2 separate regions of the Homo sapiens genome follow, and region 1 is linked to region 2. Evidence: promoter capture Hi-C in 16 types of primary human blood cells and fetal thymus (Javierre and others, 2016). All regions are on one chromosome and are shown on one strand. Each heading gives the region's core, a stretch centred on a gene start or on the middle of the fragment in contact. The rest is flanking DNA. Distances are from core to core; before and after follow the strand shown. Region 1 overlaps TFG (trafficking from ER to golgi regulator). Region 2 holds the start of RIOX2 (ribosomal oxygenase 2).

Region 1 (4,027 bases), core at 952-3,451, 2.7 Mb after region 2:
CAGGTTCAAGTGATTCTCCTGCCTCGGCCTCCCAAGTAGCTGGAATTATAGGCACACACCACCACACTCGGCTGATTTTTGTATTTTTAGTAGAGACGGAGTTTCTCCATGTTGGCCAGGCTGGTCTCGAACTCCTGACCTCAGGTGATCCGCCCACCTCAGCCTCCCAAACTGCTGGGATTACAGGTGTGAGCCACCGCACTTGGCCAAAAAGTTTTTGATTGTTTTGATTTGTGTCCGTTAGATTCTGTTAGTAGAGTGGAGGGATGGCTTAGGTAAAGTTCCTGCCATCAGAGATACTCTGTTTCTGTTGTAGGATTCAGAAAAGAAAAAAAGAACAGGAAGTTTTCTTCTTTTACATACATACTTTATTTTCTTTAAAAAATGTGTTTATGAAAATTGAACATTAAACAAGTATGTTATGGGAAGTGGGTCTGGCTATAAGGAGCTAAAAACAGTTATAAAATTCTCAGTTTTGTCATCTTTGCCCAAAATAAATCCAACTAATTAGTGTTAAAGTAGGTGCAGCAGAGCATCCCAGAAGTAGTCTTGTGGCCTCCCCAGGACAGAACTCCTCCCCACCCAACTGTTTGTGAAGACACCCTGCAGAGGTCCCTGATGAACTCCTTGTCTCTGGCTGCTTTTCTGTTCTTGCTTTCTTTAGAGAATGTATTTTTCCCTTAGCCCTTTGAAAGCTTTTGAGACACACAGTTGGTATGCCAATTATAGCATTCTTTATCCCTGAGATCTGGGGGATTTCACGGTCATAAATACACACTGTTTTGAATATATAAATATTTTTCTGGGGAGAGTTGATTGTTTTCATCTTAATATCAAAATGGTCAGTGACCTGAAAGAATTTACTGTCTATCCATTCATTAAAGCAGTTTTGCAACAGTAGTGTTTTACTCTACCTATGATTAAGATTTGAACTTTGGGAAACTTTTTTATTTCTTGGTAAAAGATGTAAATTTTTTGGAATGAAAAGATTTCAGTCTAAACCAACAATTTATGATATTGCTCTCTATGAATCTCTTACTAGTGACTAATAAATATTAAGGCACTTAATGGATTCACTTTAGCTGTATTTTTTCATGTGGATATGTGTAAATACCTTGCCATAAGAGTAATAAGCAAAATTGATTTAGTATATTTTTGAACAAATGCATTTTTGCTAGACCTTTAAAGTTTAAGGTTTCTATGGGAGAGTCCAACTATGTTCTACAATCTACATTTTGGATTTTTAATTTTTACTAGTTTACTGCTTATACAAATCTGAAAATTTAAAAAATTAAAAAACAACCTTTTTTTTTTTTAAATTCCAGATGGAGATCTTATAACAATTTTTGATAGTTCTGACCTTTCCTTTGCAATTCAGTGCAGTAGGATACTGAAACTGACATTATTTGGTGAGTAGTAAACTTTCTAATGAATTTACTATTTTATTCATTGTATTTTAAAGATGTTTGGCTTTTTTCCTTTTAAAGACTCAGGTAAGCAATAACTTATTCAAATATTATTACATTTATTTGTGTTCAGGTAGTTGTTTTAGATTACTTGAAGCTTATGGCTGTGTATGTTTTTAAGAAAATGATAGAAGTTTAATTCAGTAAGAACAGAGTGTTAAGTATGTTTTTTTTGAAATCAGGTATAACTTAGGTATCCCTGGTGCAGTATTATAGTTTTAATTTAGCTGTATTAGAATTTTTAAATTGTAATTATCTTCCTTCACATTACAGTATGTTGTTACTTATTATCAGGGCTTAACATGTAAGTCTGATACTTGAAACCAGTAGTCGCCAACCTTTTTGCACTGGAAACTGGTTTCGTGTAAGACAGTTCTTCTATGGAAGGGGGCAGGAGAAGGTTTGGGGATGAAACTCTTCCACTTTGCATGTGCAATTCACAATAGGGTTCACACTCCTATGTGAATCTAATGCCACTGCTGAACTGACAGGAGGCGGAGCCCACCACTTAACCTCCTGCTGTGCTGCCCAGCCCGGTTTGGTTCCTAACAGGCCACAGAGTAGCACTGGGTTGGGGACCCTTGCTTTAGACAGTATTTCCCGAGGGGTACTTAAAGATTAAAAATAGTTCTGATAAAAACCAATAGAAGACTAATTTTAATCTTTTAGATTTTTTCTTTTAGATCTTAATAGATATGCAAGGCAGAACTCTTAAGGGACAAGATAGAAAAGATTACAGAGTTAAATGGTAGTGTGATTATGTGAAAAATAAAATGTGTACACTTTTTCCGGCTGTTTTGTTGTTTTGTTTAGCATTAATTTTATTTTTTTTTAATTTTGTTGCATGAAACTTAGAGTTCAGTGTGAAATATGATCATGGTCTATTGATTTAATTTGTATCTATTTCATCTCCATCTAGGAAGGATGAATATGAATAATCAGAATTTAAATGTTAATAACAAAAACTGTTTAAAATTATTTAAAATAAAGGTATCTTTTTACAGTATTGAATGTAAAATACTTAACTATTGACTAGGCATAAAGCAGATTAGATAATCTGAAGACCCTTACTTTAAACAGGATCTGCTAGATAAACTTACAAATGTGTTTTCTGAATTCTGTAACTCAGCTTGCACAGGAAAGTAAGGGAAATATCCAGGGAACAAAAAAGTAGAGGGAACTAAAGGCCTGATGTACCAAAAGCTGAAACTTGGGGTGTTCTTGGTGGTGATAGTAGAGATTTTAGCCTGCATAATTTAAGGAATTGCCATCTGGTGTCTACATGGTGTAGGCCCTTGGTCCTAGTCCCTCAGTAGGCCATGCTTTCAAAAAGAATATTTTAGAAAAGTCTACCTTGATACAGGGAAAGTCAAGGAAGCTTAACTCTTATACCTTGGGCCGTCAGGGGCTTGGGAAGTCTCCCTTCAGGATTCATAATTGTGGTCCTTAGGTGAGTTGGGTTTAAATTTAAACTATCCATGTAGTTTGGTAACTCCCAAGCCCAGATGTTACCATTTTAGAAAAATCTCAGAAGAAAGGCCAAAATCTCTCTTGAGGGGTATATTCTCAATCCAGGTCACATAGGTTTCTCACAGACAAAACCGTAAGACACATGAAGCTGTCAGGTAAGCAAGAACCACTGGACACAACTAATAGCAGGATTAGATTTTCAACAACTTCAGTTAAGATATGTGATAGTCTACAAAATTAAAAGTTATTTAAGACATAGAAGAAGGAATAAGAATATAAAAGCAGCCGGCCGTGGTGGCTCACGCCTGTAATTCCAGCACTTTGGGAGGCCAAGGCGGGCGGATTGCCTGAGTGCAGGAGTTCGCGACCAGCCTGAGCAACACGGTAAAACCCTATCTCTACTGAAATGCAAAAAATTAGCCAGCTGTAGTGGTGTGTGCCTGTAGTCCCAGCTACTTGAGAGGCTGAGGCAGGAGAATTGCTTGAACCTGGGAGGTGGAGGTTGCAGTGAGTCGAGATCGCGCCACTGCACTCCAGCCTGGGTGACAGAGTGAGACTCCATCTCAGAAAAAACAAAACAAAACGAGAACATAAGAGCAAGATGCTATTGTATTATGGAAAAACAATAAACAGATTTTATAAAGAACTTAAAGTAACTTGGAAATGAGAAATATAATCATTGAAATTAAATACTAAGTGGATAGGTTAAACACATTAGTCATAGCTAAAAAGAGAATTAGTGAACTGAAAAGGAAATCCAAAGAAATTACAGAGTAAAGCACAAAAACACAGGCAAAAGAGAAGTTGAAAATGAGAACATCCAGAATATTTCTATTCAGAGTTTCAAGAAGGAGAGAATGGGAGAGTGGAAATACATTGAGGTAATGACTAAAGAAATTTTCAGAGTTATATAAAAGCTATAGACCCTCAGATTCAGAAGGCACGGGGAGCCTTGAGCAGGGATAAGTAAAAGTAAATCCCCACTGGACATATTGTCATGAAACTGGAAAATGTCTTAAGACAGAGAGATTACCTTAAAAGTAGCCAGAGAGAATAAGACTGATCACATATGAAACAATTAGACTGTTAGT
Region 2 (3,870 bases), core at 384-2,883:
GAAAATCAATGTTGACAACCATACTATAGGCAACAGACAGACAGTCACTATATTTTAAAGGTACCCTAACCTCCTTTTCTATAATATTTGAGGACATGAAGACGTGAGGAAGCTCTTGAAGGAAAGGATTTGTATATCCCCGGAAACAAGCACGGTGTGGTACATAGGAGGTCCTCAAGAAATGTCTGCTGAATTTTTCACATTTTCATCTTTTGTCTGTATACAATTTTGGAGACAAACCACAAAGGCCTTACACAAAACAGTTACGGAAAAAACAGATGGCCTGTGCAGAGGGGATTATTTTTCTGATTGCAGCTGTCACTTCAGGATTCAAGAGTATCGTAAAAGCTAAAAGGCACTTTAGACATCAGTAGTTATTACTAAATCGGGGAGGGAAGTATGAATTTCTACATCCCCTGGGCAGTTTTACAGAATGTAGTTCAGAGTTACCAGCAAGGTTGTTAGCATGCAAATTTCTGGGCCCTCATCAAGCCCACTGGATTGCCACTTCTGATGGCTGAGGCCCATAATCTGCATTAACGTAATACGCTCTCTAGATGAATTTTAGGTCCACTAATGGAGGACAACAGTCAAACGCAGCTCAGTTAAACACACGGCTGTCAGAAATTATATATTGCTTGTAACAAGGTTGCCCAGACTGATCTAAAACATTTCTTTTTGGCTCAGAGATATGTTAATCAATCCAGAGGGAAAACTGGTTCTCCTATTGACCTAAAGGAGTGATCAGCAGTTATCTTTTTAGTCTGATTTTAGAGAGGAAACGGACTATACCTCAATGTATTTTCGTGACCATGAGGTTACAAAGCTTGATGTCCAGGAGGCAAAAACCAGTACCAGCAGAAGAAGCTGAGTAAATCAGGTTCCTCTGCTCAAAGATGAGCCCAGTGACATGAAACCCGAGGCACCAGATTTACAGCTAATGAGTGGCGAAATCAGATCCTCTTCCTCCCAGTCTATCCTTCCTGAAAACAGTGAATAACCTGGTCTCAGTAACCTGTTGGACAACCCAGCTGTCGGCCAATCGTTGCGGAATTATTTGCTGGTAAATGAATTGGAAGCATATGATGTAATGCAGCTGCCCTTCTCCCCACACACCTGAACTTCAGATTTCACAGCTGTAGAGCGTGTCTCTTAGGCCCGACATGACGCCCGGCGGCGCAGCCCACGTGGAAGCCGTGCTCGCACAGGCAGTTCTGCCACCACCGGGCGGAGGCCGGCACCACCCTCCTTGCTAAGCCTCCAAACTTTCCGTGCGCTCGTCACCGGTGTCGCGACCATTAGCAGGCCACGTGTGCGACTCTCTGTAACCAAGGCTTCCGCGACCCTACCCCTAGATCCGGGCCCCACCCACCCTGCCCCAGTCTCCGGGGAGGTGGGACGCCTGGGAGCGCGTCCCAGGTCCCGCAACCACAGCGCCGGCCACCGAGGCTTCTCGCCGACCGACAGGTCTCCCAGACCCGCACCCGAGCCCGGGTGCCTAAAGCAGCAGCGCGCGCCCCGCGGGATCGGGCACTACCCGGCCTGCCCCGGCGCTGGGATGCCCACGAGAGCGCCCCACTCACCCGGCACGGCCTGTTGCTCGCGGCCGCGAGCCCACTGCGTTGCGGCGCAGCGGCTGGAGGCGGGGCAGCGTGGGCACGCTCCGGGCCGTGCTCCAGCCCCCGCCCCGCCCCGCCACGCCGGCCCGCAAGTGGTGGCAGCCCGGAGGCCTGGCTACCCGGCGGTGTTCCGCGTTCACGCCCGGGCGTTTCTTTAGTCCATATGGAAGGAAATAAATGGCCTTTTTTTTCCTCTTTTTTTTTTTTTTTTTTTTTTTTTTTTTTTTTTTATGGTATGTGAGACAAGGTCTCACTCTCGCCCAGGCTGGAGTGCAGTGGTAGCGATCTTGGCTCACTGCAACCTTTACCTCCCGGGCTCAAGCGATCCTCCTGCCTCGGCCTCCCAAAGTGCTGGATTATAGGTGTGAGCCACCCACCCGGCTCTCCTTTTTTTTCTTTTAACTTGGGGCGGCAGGAGAGGATTTGAGAGAGCGTTTTGGTGCAACTCCGTTCCTTTTATGAATAGAGAAGCAGGCCTGAAGAGGAATACCAGCGGTGCAAGTTTAGGGAGTTGGTGGTCCGGGTTCTCCCATGGCTTTCTTATGGGCTGTGTGGCTACACAATGCTGATTTGTACAAGCCGAGTGTCATTTATATCATCTCGCTCCGGGAGAGAGAGTCAATCCTAGTTTTAAAAGATACTGGAAATTCGTTGCGACTATGGCTATAGAAACAGAAGAAATGCAGTTATCTGAGTCCTTTCAGCCTAACACTCCCTGCTTTGGAACATTTGGTTCCAGTCAGGAGGCACAAATGAGGGAGCAGGGAAATCAGTGGCGGGCCTGTGCCTTTCTTTGCTCTGTAGACAGCCAGAGGACCCAGAGGAAGTCGACATTTCGTTCCGTCAAGGTGACTGAGACCAGTGGCTGCTTCTAAGGATCAAGTGGCACATGAACAAATGGGAACAAAGTACACCCTTGTCTAGTATTTGTCTAAAACTAACAATAATAGCAAGTCTTGAATTGAGTTCTTCCTGGCTATAAGGCACCACGCTAGGTGTTTCAAATACTCCTCACTTCATCCTCACTACAACCTTGCAATTACCTCCATTTTACAGTTGAGGAAACTGAGTCAGGAGAGGTTAACTAACTTGCACAAGATCACACAGCTAGGAAGATGCAGAAACAAGATTAGAGCCAAACCAGTCAGTCAACTGTTGGTCTTTTTCACGTTTTACTAATACTCGTATAACTAGTAAGTTTCCTGGCAGGTTCCAGTTGGAAAAACTCGAGGGTAACATCAAATTTAGCCCTTACAGGGTAAAAAAGAATAGTCAACAGCAAAAATCTCTAGTTGATATGATATTGGTAATGTACTTCGCTCTTTATTTTGACTGCAAGACATCTACTCAAGATAATATAGAATAATATTGCTGTTCCCGGGATTCAGATAAAGGTAAATTCTCACACGTCCACCACTTGGAAAAGCAGTACGGTTGTAGAAAAAAGTTATAATGTCAACACAAAATACCATTTTCTCAGCATATAAAATGGCCGCAGGATGTCTAACAGAACAAAAGTACATATGGAAGTCAGCTTTGCAGGGGGAAATCATACATCTTGTGTAGGAGTTCCTCTAATGCAAAATTAGTATATCAGTATGTTCTCTCTGATTTTTTTCATTATAATTCCGATTTCTTAGCATAGCAAGCAAAAAAGTCATGATAGTTCCATTTTCAGACCTAAACAGTGCCCATCATTCCTGTGAAGAAAAGGAGAAGGGGCCAGGTGCGGTAGCTCACGCCTATAATCCCAGGACTTTGGGAGGCTGACGCCGGTGGATCACCCGAGGTCAGGAGTTCAAGACCACCCTGGCCAACATGGTGAAACCCCCGTCTCTAACAAAAATACAAAAAAATTACTCAAGCATGGTGGTGCCTGCCTGTAATCCCAGCTACTCAGGAGGCTGAGGCAGGAGAATTGGTTGAACCAGGGAGGCGGGGTTGCAGTGAGCTGAGATTGCACCACTGCACTCCAGCTTGGGCAACAAGAGCAAAACTCTGTTTCGGAAAAGAAAAAGAAAAAGAGAAGGAAAGTTAGTTTGTGCTTGGGTGACAAGAGCGAAATTCCGTCTAAAGGAAGGAAAGAAGGAAGGGGCGGGGAGGGAGGGAGGAAGGGGGAGGGAGGGAAGGAGGTAGGGGAGGAAGTAAGGGTGTGGTGGGATGGTATGGGAGTGGAGAATGGCTTGCAACCTTGCCTGAGAGGAGGAAGAGGAGGTGAGGAAGTAAGGGTGGCATGGGATGGGAGTGGAGA

Evidence for each region. Contacts are between HindIII fragments. The CHiCAGO score rates a contact against its expected background, and 5 or more counts as called.
Region 1: a contact is called between a fragment that was not itself captured here and the fragment with the promoter of RIOX2 in region 2, in 1 of 17 cell types (activated CD4 T cells). The highest score is 6.7, in activated CD4 T cells.

What each region holds. Positions count from the first base shown.
Region 1 is chr3:100,718,650-100,722,676 of GRCh38, forward strand. It overlaps TFG (trafficking from ER to golgi regulator), which reads left to right. Exons shown (of 8, transcript NM_006070.6): 3 at 1,326-1,409. Among named protein-coding and RNA genes, the nearest start is that of TFG, 11 kb to the left of the region's middle. The HindIII fragment of the contact is 1,281 bases long and covers 1,562-2,842 here.
Region 2 is chr3:97,970,798-97,974,667 of GRCh38, forward strand. It overlaps RIOX2 (ribosomal oxygenase 2), which reads right to left and starts at 1,634. Exons shown (of 10, transcript NM_153182.4): 1 at 1,584-1,634. LOC124909398 (a long non-coding RNA gene) reads left to right here and starts at 1,856. Exons shown (of 2, transcript XR_007095976.1): 1 at 1,856-3,013. RefSeq lists an enhancer at 849-1,108 and a silencer at 1,379-1,818. The HindIII fragment of the contact is 3,966 bases long and covers 825-3,870 here.